Linked DNA regions of Homo sapiens: regions 2 and 3 are each linked to region 1. The links are contacts of gene promoters, found by promoter capture Hi-C in human tissues and cell types (Jung and others, 2019). All regions are on one chromosome and are shown on one strand. Each heading gives the region's core, a stretch centred on a gene start or on the middle of the fragment in contact. The rest is flanking DNA. Distances are from core to core; before and after follow the strand shown. Region 1 holds the start of DDRGK1 (DDRGK domain containing 1). Region 2 overlaps DNAAF9 (dynein axonemal assembly factor 9). Region 3 overlaps DNAAF9 (dynein axonemal assembly factor 9).

Region 1 (3,926 bases), core at 1-2,500:
AAATGACAATGCTGCCTATAAGCCCAGCCCGGCCCATGGCAGGAGGAGCGGCAGCCCGGAAGCCTCACCTCCTCTGCTTAGCGGCCTGCTGCCCACAGCACAAGGCCCCGACTTCTCAGTCTGACTGGCAAGGCCTTTTCCACCAGGCCCACAGCTTGGTCCCAGGCGGGGGCTCAGCCCTTCCCTCGGGCCTGTGTGAATACTCCTCTCCCCTCCCGGCTCCACCTTTCCAGCTGGCCTGTCAGGAGGCCCCTATCCTGATGTCCCCAGCTCTCATCGAGTACCCCCTGCAGGAATCCACTGATTTCTCGCCTAACACCACCTGTGGTTTTATCTGGCTCCCCAGCCAGAGAGTACACTTCCCGGCGGTGGCCGAGCCTCCCCCGGGAAGACCTGCTGGATCTCCGCCTTCCCTCAGCGTGTCCCTTCCGCTCCTGGGAGCGCGCAGGTGCTCAGAGGTAGCTTGTGGGCCCAGGGAGCAGGAAAACACATATACAAACCCGCCCGCTGACCAGAAATGGGGGGAAAGAGGGAGGATGGGTGTATCTGTTCTGTGCCCTGGCCAATGACATGGCCTTCTGATCGGGGAGCGGATTGGGGAGGGAGAGTGGGCCCTCTCCTTGGCGGGAAGGGAGAGAGCTTCAGGAATTTCCTGGAGCCGCCTCGCGCTTCTCCAGCTCGTGGGGGACAGGCAGAAAATATTCAGATGCCCCCTTCCTGGCACCTGCTCTGGAGCCAGGCTGGGAGGAATGGAAAACCCCTGCGGCCTCCCTAACAGGTGCAGAGGGAAAGGGCCCCGACGGTGACGGATGGGAGTGTGCGCCGGCCAGGGCCTCAGGCCTTTGGAGGTATGGAGTTCCCGGGGGTGAAGAGAGGGATGAGGCCAGACTCTGGCTTGGAGTCGAGAGAAAGGGGTAGCGGCGCGGCCACCGATTCCAGGTAGGGCACTGCGGAAGCCCCACCCGGCACACGACTAGCGCACGGACGCGCATGCGTCCCGCCCGCCCAGGTGCGCACGCGCAGGAGCCGCGGCGCGACGGTCCACAAAGGCTCAGAAGGCCAGAAAACCCGGTACCACCAACCCTGGTGCAGCGGCATCTCCTACCTGATGCCGCCCGGCCCCGGCTGCGAGTCAGGAAGAGGATAAAGCCGACTAGCAGAGCCGCCGCTACCAAGTACCACACAGGCGCCACCATGACGAGGGCCTCAGTGCAGAACCACTGCGTCCACCCTGAGGCCGGGATCTCATAGGCCCCGCCCCTATTTCCCAATCTAGACTCCGCCCACTACTCGGAGCCCCGCCCAGCGGCACATCACAGAGAGGCTTTAATGTCAGACATTAAAATGAGTTTGGGGGGTGTAAAGAAACCCACAATGTTAAGAGGAAATTATAGCAGACGGTATGTCCAGTAGAAAACATCTATGTATGTTTTTTTTTTTTGAGACGGAGTCTCTGTCGCACAGGCTGGAGTGCGGTGGTGCGATCTCGGCTCACTGCAACCTCCACCTCCCAGGTTCAAGCGATTCTCCTGCCTCAGACTCCCGAGTAGCTGGGATTACAGGCGCCCGCCACCACGCCCGGCTAATTTTTGTATTTTTAGTAGAGATGGGGGTTTCACCGTGTTGGCCAGGCTGGTCTCGAACTCCTGACCTTGTGATCCACCCACCTTGGCCTCCCAAAGTGCTGGGATTACAGGCGTGAGCCACCGCGCCCGGACTATATATGTTTTAAAAATCACTAAACAATCCCACATAGTGTTTATGGAAACAACCGTGGAAAAAGTACGAAAAGAGGCTTGGGACTGATGCACACCAACTTCAGGATAGCGATTACCTCTAGGAGGAGGGAAGCGGGTTGGGGTTTTGCTGTATCTGTGACACTGAATTTCTTTCTTTCTTTCTTTCTTTTGAGGGGAAGGGGAGGGGAGGGGAGGGCAGTACTGGAATTTATTAAGCTTTTTGTATACATGATAACAGAAGTAAAGATTTATTTCAGGAGCCAGGCACAGAGGCTCGTCTGTTAACCCAATACTTTGGGAAGTCTAGGTAGAGGTGAGCCTAGGAGTTCAAGACCAGCCTGGGCAACATGATGAAACCCTGTCTCTACAAAATACAAAAATTAGCCAGGTGTGGTGGCATGCACCTGTGATTCCAGGTACTTGGGAAGATGAGGTGGGAAGATCACCTGAGCCCAGGGAGGTCGAGGCTGCAGTGAGCCATGATCATGCCAGTGCACTCCAGCCTGGGTGATAGAGTGAGACCCTGTCTCAGAAAATAAAAATAAATAAAAATAAATTCAGGACCAATGAACAATGGTGAGAAAGGGATTTGAAAAAATACGGGCCAGATGAGGTGGCTCTCCCCTGTAATCCTAGCACTTTGGGAGGCCGAGGTGGGCGGATCACTTCAGGTCAAGTGTTCAAAACCAGCCTAGCTGACGTGATGAAATCCTGTCTCTACTAAAAATACAAACAATGAGTGGGGCGTGGTGGCACATGCCTGTAATCCCAGCTACTCGGGAGGCTGAGGCAGGAGAATCACTTGAACCCAGGGGGCGGACGTTGCAGTGAGCCAAGATTGCACCACTGCACACCAGCCTGAGCGACAGAGCAAGACTCTGTCTCAAAAAAAAAAAAAAAAGAAAGAAAGAAAGAAAAAGAAAAAGAAAAAATATGGGCTGGGCGAGGTGGCTCACACCTGTAATCCCAGCACTTTGGGAGGCTGAGGTGGGTGGATCACCTGAACTCAGGAGTTTGAGACCAGCCTGACAAACACAGTGAAACCCTGTCTCTACTAAAAATACAAAATTAGCTTGGCGTGGTGGTGGGTGCCTGTAATCCCAGCTACTTGGGAGGCTGAGGCAGGAGAATCTCTCGAAGCCGGGAGGCAGAGGTTGCAGTGAGCCGAGATCACACTATTGCACTCCAGCCTGGGCAACAGAGTGAGACTCAGTCTCAAAAAAAAAAAAAAAAAAAAAAAAGCTGGGCACCGTGGCTCACGCCTACAATCCCAACCAACACTTTGGGAGGTCGAGGTGGGTGGATCACCTGAGGTCGGGAATTTGAGACCAGCCTGACCAACATGGAGAAACCCCATCTCTACTAAAAATACAAAATTAGCCGGGTGTGGTGGCTCATGCCCATAATCCCAGCACTTCGGGAGGCTGAGGCAGGCGGATCACGAGGTCAGGAGATCAAAACCATCCTGGCTAACACGGTGAAACCCCGTCTCTACTAAAAATACAAAAAAATTAGCCAGGCGTGGTGGTGGGCGCCTGTAGTCCCAGCTACTTGGGAGGCTGAGGCAGGAGAATGGTGGGGACCCGGGAGGCGGAGCTTGCAGTGAGCTGAGATCGCGCCACTGCACTCCAGCCTGGGCGACAGAGTGAGACTGTCTCAAAAAAAAAAAAAAAAGAAGAAGAAAGATACAAAAATTAACCAGGCATGGTGGTGCATGCCTGGAGTCCCAGCTACTCAGGAGGCTGAGGTGGGAGAACTGCTCGAACCCAATATGCAGAGGTTGCAGTGAGCCGGGACCACACCACTGTACTTCAGCCTGGGCAACAGAGCAAGACTCCATCTCAAAAAAAATAAATAAATAAAAGAATGAAAAAGAAAGTTATCTATGGACTTGTAATTATAGATGTCAGTTGTGATCTTTTTGTTTGTTGGTTTTTTGAGACAGGGTCTCACTCACATCACCCAGGCTAGAGTACAGTGGCACTCTTGGCTCACTGCAGCCTCGACTTCCCAGGCTCAGGTGATCCTCCCACCTCAGCCTCCTAAACAGCTGTGACTACAGGTGTGTGCCCCCAAGCCCAACTAATTTTTTGTATTTTTTGTAGAGACTGGGTTTCACCATGTTGTCTAGGCTTGTCTTGAACTCCTGGGATCAAGTGATCCACTGTGCCCAAGCTAGTTATCTTA
Region 2 (3,926 bases), core at 408-2,907, 170 kb after region 1:
GTCCCCGCAGACTCCCAGCTGCATCTCCTAACTCAGGGAGTGCGCTGGGCACCACCTGGATCCTCTCTTCTCTATGCTGTGTCTGGAAACTTTCTCAAAGTGATAAGCTAGTACCATCAAGGGGCTCACATTGATTGTTTCCGTCTCTCAGGGAATCAGGATTCCTCACTGCCTGATGCCTAGTTTGTGTTTTTGTTTTGGGGGGCTTTTGTTGGTTTGGGAACCAGTTTTTGTTGTTTTGTGGTGGGTGACTTGTTTTTTCTTCCTGGAAGCCTTTTTTTTTCTTTTTTGGCCAAACTTACTGACCAACTTCCTGGAAGCTTTTTTTTTTTTTTTGAGACAGAGTCTTGCTCTTTCGCCCAGGCTGGAGTGCAGTGGCATGATCTCAGCTCACTGAAAGCTCCGCCACCCAGGTTCACGCCATTCTCCTGCCTCAGCCTCCCGAGTAGCTGGGACTACAGGTGCCCGCCACCAAGCCCGGCTAATTTTTGTATTTTTTTTTTTAAGTAGAGACAGGGTTTCACCGTGTTAGCCAGGATGGTCTCGATCTCCTGACCTCGTGATCCCTCCGCCTCGGCCTCCCAAAGTGCTGGGATTACAGGCATGAGCCACTGCGCCCGGCCATCCTGGAAGCTTTTAAAGATATTCTTTCATCCAGGCTGGGTGCAGGTGGCTCACGCCTGTAATCCCAGCTTTCAGAAGCCGAGAAGGCAGATCACCTGAGGTCAGGAGTTTGGGACCACCCTGGCCAACAAGGTGAACCCCATTTCTCTAAAAATACAAAATTAGCCAGGCATGGTGGAGCATGCCTGTAATCCCAGCTTCTCGGGAGGTTGTGGCAGGAGAATCGTTTGCACCTGGGAGGCAGAGGTCGCAGTGAGCCAAGATCGTGCCATTGCACTCCAGCCTGGGCAAGGAGAGTAAAACTCTGTCTCAAAAAAAAAAAAAAGGATATTCTTTTATCCTTAGTGTCTGAAATGTCACGGACAGATTTAAGGGTTTTTTTTCCTCTTCCCATTCATACTTAAGTGATTTAATTTAAAACCTTTTATTTCTCTTTATGATTGGGAATGTTTATGTTTTAAAAAGATTTCTTCCCTTATGGTATCGTGGCCTCCTCTTTCCAGAAATTCTACTCATTGGATATTAGACTTCTTAGATCAGTCTTCTAACATTTAAAGTTAACTTTTTTTTTTTTTTCAGATGGAGTCTCGCTCTTTCGCCCAGGCTGGAGTGTAGTGGTGCGATCTCAGCTCACTGCAACCCCCACTTCCTGGGTTTAAGCAATTCTCCTGCCTCAGCCTCCCAGGTAGCTGGGACTACAGGCGTGTGCCACCACACCCGGCTACTTTTCTATTTTTAGTAGAGACGGGGGTCTCGCTGTGTTGACCGAGCTGGTCTTGAACTCCTGACCTCAAGTGATCTGCCTGCCTCAGCCTCCCAAAGTGCTGGGATTACAGGTGTGAGCCACCAAGCCCGGCCTAAAGTTAACTTTAAAGGTTAAAGTCTTTTAACTTTTTTATCAATATTTTCTATCTCCGTGATGTTTTTATTTTACCTTTCTAAGGAGTTTCCTAACTTTACCTTCCACCCCTCTATTGATTTTATCAATTATGATTTCCTAGAGCTCGTATTTTCCATACATTCAGTTATTACAACATTCACTTGTCCTATGGTTGACAAATCTTACATTTTTCTGGGCATCCAAAAAGAGTTTTATGTCAAGTTTTCTTCTATACCTTAAATTATCTTTGGGTCTTAATGAACTGGTCTTCTTTTAAAAAAAAAAATTGATCTTTTTCTTTTGAGTTACTGCTGTTTAATCAAATGTCTGGTGATCTTTGGCTTCCTATTCATACTTTGAAATGAGGCAATGAAAAGGCTAACTGGAAGGTGTATATTCCTGATAACTGTTATGCAGAGCTTCTATTACTGGGTCTCCATCCCCTTATATTCTACATGCCAAAATGTGAACAGGTTTACTCTCAGGAAGCAAAAACTACACTAGCCAATGAAATCTCTTGGTTTTGTCTTGCCTTTCAGTTTATTTATTTCATTTTTATTTATTTATTTTGAGACAGTGTCTCACTCTGTTGCTCAGGCTGGAGTGCAGTGGTTCAATCAGCCCACTGCAGCCTGGAGCTCCAGGGCTCAAGCTATCCTCCGGCCTCAGCCTCCCAAGTAGGTGGGACTGTAGGTACATGCCACTGTGCCTCGCTAATTTTTTTTTTTTTGAGATGGAGTCTCACACTGTCGTCCAGCTGGAGTGCAGTGGCATGATCTTGGCTCACTGCAGCCTCCACCTCCCAGGTTCAAGTGATTCTCCTGCCTCAGCCTCCTGAGTAGCTGGGATGACAGGTGCCTGCCACCATGCCCAGCTAATTTTTGTATTTTTAGTAGAGACGGGGTTTCACCATGTTGGCCAGGACGGTCCCGATCTCTTGACCTCATGATCCACCCGCCTCAGCCTCCTAAAGTGCTCAGATTACAGGCTTGAGCCACCGCGCCCAGCCGTGCCCGACTAATTTTTTTAAAATTTTTTTGTTGCCAGGCTGGTCTTGAACTCCTGGCTTCACGCGATCCTCCCGCCTTGGCCTCCCAAAGTGCTAGGCTTGATTACAAGTGTGAGCCACTCACCAGGCCCTTTTCAGTTTTTTTACAAAACCTCCACCCAAATCTCTTCTTTGTTTTTCCTAGGGTGGAGGTGGCATCTGCAAATGCCTGGTTGACTGTCACTTGAGGGGAGAGGAGAGCGGTAGAGGGAGGTACAGACTATTACATAACAACCTTTAATTTAATTCTTTCCTTTCAATATCACCAATTTCCATTCTCTATTCTCCACTTCATCATCTTCCTTCCCATTGCTTTAATCTACTTGGCCCCTTCCTCTGTATTCTGGAAAAGCTTTTCAAGTGTGTCAACTGATTAGATTTTTTATATCTTTTTTTAATGTAAGTTTTCATTCTACTAATAAATTTTGAGACTTCCTACAATCTTTTCTTATATGTCTTCCATCTCCCTTTTTAATTTTGATTGCTCACCTCATTGCTAGATCTCATTTCTCTTTTTATAAATTCTGTTCCTAAAAAGTACCAAAAAGAGAAATTTTCTCAATTATTTTTGTTCCTTGAAGAAAATCTTTTTTTTTTTTTTTTTTTTTTTTTTTGAGACTGGAGTCTCGCTCTGTGGCCCAGGCTGGAGTGCAGTGGCGCTATCTCGGCTCACTGCAAGCTCCGCCTCCCGGGTTCCCGCCATTCTCCTGCCTCAGCCTCCCGAGTAGCTGGGACTACAGGCGCCTGCCACCACGCCCGGCTAATTTTTTGTATTTTTAGTAGAGACGGGGTTTCACCGTGTTACCCAGGATGGTCTCGATCTGCTGACCTCGTGATCCGCCCGCCTCGGCCTCCCAAAGTGCTGGGATTACAGGTGTGAGCCACCGCGCCCGGCAGAAAATCTTTTTTTAAAGCATGCTGATCTATCCCTGCATCTAATATGTTGTGGTCTCTTTCTTACATTTTGTTGACCCTTTTCCTAATTCTTATTCTATCTTTCAATATGAAGATCTATTTGTCCATAAACAGATGAATGAATGCTCACTGGTTACTCATTATTTAGAGGTTTGCTATTAGGATCCTCCCCTTGTGGAGCTGATTGATGTAAATTTACATTACCAGATCACAGTTCCAGCAGTGGGAGAGTAAGAAGGAGGAAGTTAGAGGCAGAAAACGCCCTAGCAGAGGAACTTCCCTGTACTGCTTCCCAGGAAGAAAAAATTATCTATATCGATGACTCAGTTTGGCCCAGCATAAATGGCAAGTAAAAGCTGTGGCTGGGCCTGGTTTTCTTTCTCATGCTGGCACCTACCACATGAGGAACAAAACACATCTGGGCTAATGACTTTCTTCTGGGTATGGCCATATAATACA
Region 3 (3,926 bases), core at 606-3,105, 140 kb after region 1:
CTAGTGATAAATTCAATTTTTTTGTTTGAGAAAGTATTTCTCTTTTGTTTCCTCCTTTTTCTTTTGAAGGATAAGTTTGTTGGATATAAAATGTGGTTTGGTTGGTGTGCTTTTTCATTCAACACTTTAAAATATCATTTCACTCTTTTCTTGTTTGTATGGTTTCTGATAAGAAGTCCCCTGGAATTTTCATCCTTGTTCCTCTATAGGTAAGGTGTTTTATTTCCCCTTTTGGCATTTTAAGAGATTTTCTCTTTGTCTTTGATCTTCTGAAGTTTGAATAGGATAGGCCTACACATAGATATTTTGGGATTTATCCTGCTTGGTGTTCTCTAAGCTTCCTGGGTCTGTGGTTTTGTGTCTTTGTCATGAATTTTGGAAAATTCTTGGCCATGACTACTTCAAGTACTTCTTCCGTTTCCTTCTCTTTCTTCTTCAGGTATTCCCAGTACATGCACATTATACCTTTTGAAATTGTCCCAGGGTTCTTGGATGATTTTTTTTTTTTTTTTTTTCTGAGACGGAGTTTTGCTCTTGTTGCCTAGGCTGGAGTGCAATGGTGCGATCTCAGCTCACTGCAACCTCCGCCTCCTGGGTTCAAGCGATTCTCCCACCTCAGCCTCCCTAGTAGCTGGGATAACAGGCGCCCGCCACCACACCCAGCTAATTTTTTGTATTTTTAGTAGAGATGGGGTTTCACTATATTGGCCAGGCTGGTCTCGAACTCCTGACCTCAGGCAATCCACCTGCCTCGGCCTCCTGAAGTGCTGGGATTACAGGTGTGAGCCACTGTGCCCGGCTGGTTCTTGGATGATTTTTTTTTTCTCTCATTGTTTTCTTCTCTTCACACTCCTGTTCGGGAATTTTCTATTGACCAATGTCACGCTTACTGATTCCTTCCATGGATATGTCTGCTCTACTGATAAGCCCATTAAAGGTATGCTTTGCTTCTATTACAGTGCTTTTGAATCCTAGAATTTCCTTTTGATTCTATCTTCAAGTTTCCACCTCCCTGTTTACACTATTCATCTCTTCTTACATGTTGCCTATGTGTTCCATTAGAGCCTTTAACATTAATCATAGTCATTTTTAATAATCTGTATATTACAAAATATGAGTCATATCTGAGTCTGGTTCTGATAGTCGCACTGTCTCTTCAAATAGTGTTTTTTCTTGCCTTTTAGCATGCTTTGTAATTTTTTGTTGAAAGCCAAAAATGATGTATCAGGTAACAGGAACTGAAGAAACAGACTTTTAATGTGGGATTTTATGTTAATCTGGCTGGGAGTTAGGTTCTGTTTAATGTTTTCTGAAGCTGTAGGTGCCAGGGACTTCAAATCCCTCTAGTATTCTTCTATTTTTCTTCCCCATTTTTCTTCTTTGGGTTCCCTGTGAACTCCATCTTAGATGTACCTTGCAGCTCTGTCAGCAGTAACCCCCTATTATATTGTAGACCTCTGCTAAGGTAATGGGGGAGGGAAACATTCTATGATTTTACGGTTAAATCTCAGTCTTTTAGCAGGCCTGTGTCTCCAGGCTGTGATCATCAAAAGTGTTTCTTAGCTATTTCCCCCTCTCCTAGGGAAGACAGGAAGCCTACAGTGGCATGTGCCTGTGGTCCCAACTATTCAGGAGGCTGAGGTGGGAGGATCACCTGAGCCTGGGAGGTCAAGGCTGCAGTGAGCCAAGGCTGTGCCACTGCACTCTAGCCTGGGTGACAGAGTGAGACCCTGTCTCAAAAAATAAACAAACAAACAAAAAAACTAGTACCTACTAACCACAGCTTTCCTGATTGCCAGAGACATTTTGAAAATACTCAAAATTCCACTGAGATAGCATAGACTTTCACAATCTAAGTCTCATATTCAGGTCTAATGTTTTCTTTAAAAGAATGTAGCAGACAATCTGCCACCAAATGCAAAAATCTTCTCTCTGGCACTCTCAATAAACAATGATCATCAAGGTTGGCTTCTGTCCTTAAATGTTAACAGTCAAGGCATAACAAACTTAGGCTTGGAATAACTATCTTCAAATTATTTTGAATTTTAAAAATTCTATTGACAATATTACTCTGACAACTTAAAGACTGGTTTGTGAAACTACGTTCTTAACCTTTTTCCTTCAAGTATTTCAAAATTAAATGTGATGCTTTCAAATCATACCTAGTTTGTACTATAAAAAAAGTACAAACAGTTTCTAATCACTTCTTTTCACTCTAGAACAACTTCAAATTCAGGGTTAAATCAACACACTAACTGGAAAAGGTTCTTTTTGTCTAGCTCCCCCCACCCACCCCACCCCCACAACTTGATAATAAAACTAATCAAGCACCAGGCAGTCCAGCCACTTACCATGTGCTTGGCAAAGCTCCCGCCGGGACCAGTGCTTCGTACCAGATGTCCTTCAGAAGGGAAGTTAAAGTTGCCAGCATTCAGGTTTTCTCGTGTGGAGTGATTACCAAAGAGAACAAATGGCTGCCGGTTAGGGCTAGAGAGGGAAGTCAAAAACATGTGATTAGAAAAGAGTTCCTGGCCAAGGCAACCTTCCATGACCTTAATAAGTCCTCAGGCTTTTCTGAGGGACACTTGCGGCCTGAGCAAAGTGGTCAGTCAGTACAGTCGACCGAATATCCTTGGCTGGTTGGAAACGGATGCCAGCTGTCTCCCTACTGACCCACAGGGATCAGTTAACATTTAGGGACATAACTAAACTCAAGCTAGGTTTGTATTTTCAGCATGTCCCACTTTTTGAGGAATAAGTTCCATAAGCTTGCTGTCCATGATACAGTGATAGAGCAAAACTCCGGTATTATAAAATAGAATTTTAATAGAAATATGAGTCTTAAAGGATGACAGTTATGATACTTGGACTAGACAGACAATAGGGCAGTCACCAATTCCTGAGTAACTTTCAATAGGGAAGGAGCACAGGAGGGTTGCAAATTTTCTCAATACCACACATACCTGGCTCTGTACCCACCCCCTTCCTCCCTGTCCTCTTGGCTGAACTTTTCCTCTCCCCTACTTTCTGCTCACTCCTCAGCCCACTCTAATCAGCCTCCTCAGTCATTTCACCCAGAGAGTTCTTGCCAAAGTCACCAAGTGACTTCCATGTAGCATACAGCAAATCCAACAGATAGTCTTCAGGTCTTCCTTCCTTCCTTGGTCTCTGAGAAGCACTTGACTCCCTCCCACCCTCCACTGCAAGAACTGCAGTGCAAGACTGCACTCCCCTCAGTCTCCCCAGTCAGTCACCCTCCTCTTCCACCTGGTCTCCGAATAGTCCCAGGGTTTACCTGCAGCTTGCTGCTCCCTCCTCTCCTCTGTGATGATGTTCCCTATGTCTGCTCCCCTTCCAGTTCTTGCAGGAAATAAACGGCATCACAATCCACCCAGGTACCCAGCCATCTGAAAGGCCTCCTTGACTTCTGCTTCCTCCGCCTTCAAATCTAATTAACCTTCTCAAAAGCCTTCCTATTTAACCATTTTCTTCCATCTTCATGGCCACAACCTTAGTCCATGCTGCCATGATTTCTTCCCTGGACAACTGCAACACTTCCTCACTGTTTCCCTGTTTCCACTCTTGCCCTCCTATAATGGATTCTCTACATTGCAGTGATGATAATATATATACATATTTTTTTGAGACGGAGTCTTGCTCTGTCGCCCAGGCTGGAGTGCAGTGGCGCGATCTCGGCTCACTGCAAGCTCCACCTCCCAGGTTCACGCCATTCTCCTGCCTCAGCCTCCCGAGTAGCTGGGACTGCAGGCACCCGCCACCACGCCTGGCTAATTTTTTGTATTTTTAGTGGAGATGGGGTTTCACCGTGTTAGCCAGGATGGTCTTGATCTCCTGACCTCGTGATCCACCCACCTCGGCCTCCCAGGTGATAATCTTTTAAACGTGCCAATTTACTGCCTTTATGT

Evidence for each region. The method cuts DNA at HindIII sites, captures the fragments that hold promoters and counts their contacts. A contact is called where the count stands out against the background at its distance.
Region 2: a fragment that was not itself captured here is called in contact with the fragment with the promoter of DDRGK1 in region 1 in 1 of the 25 tissues and cell types used here (IMR-90 fibroblasts).
Region 3: a fragment that was not itself captured here is called in contact with the fragment with the promoter of DDRGK1 in region 1 in 1 of the 25 tissues and cell types used here (mesendoderm cells).

The regions. Positions count from the first base shown.
Region 1 is chr20:3,203,432-3,207,357 of GRCh38, forward strand. It overlaps DDRGK1 (DDRGK domain containing 1), which reads right to left and starts at 1,251. Exons shown (of 9, transcript NM_023935.3): 1 at 1,106-1,251. The coding sequence starts at 1,196. It also overlaps a transcript of ITPA not described here. RefSeq lists an enhancer at 943-1,162. The HindIII fragment of the contact is 17,154 bases long and covers 1-3,926 here.
Region 2 is chr20:3,368,195-3,372,120 of GRCh38, forward strand. All of the region lies in intron 6 of DNAAF9 (dynein axonemal assembly factor 9), which reads right to left. Among named protein-coding and RNA genes, the nearest start is that of DNAAF9, 38 kb to the right of the region's middle. The HindIII fragment of the contact is 4,428 bases long and covers 1-3,871 here.
Region 3 is chr20:3,338,153-3,342,078 of GRCh38, forward strand. DNAAF9 (dynein axonemal assembly factor 9) reads right to left here. Exons shown (of 37, transcript NM_001009984.3): 10 at 2,352-2,487. Among named protein-coding and RNA genes, the nearest start is that of DNAAF9, 68 kb to the right of the region's middle. The HindIII fragment of the contact is 3,575 bases long and covers 69-3,643 here.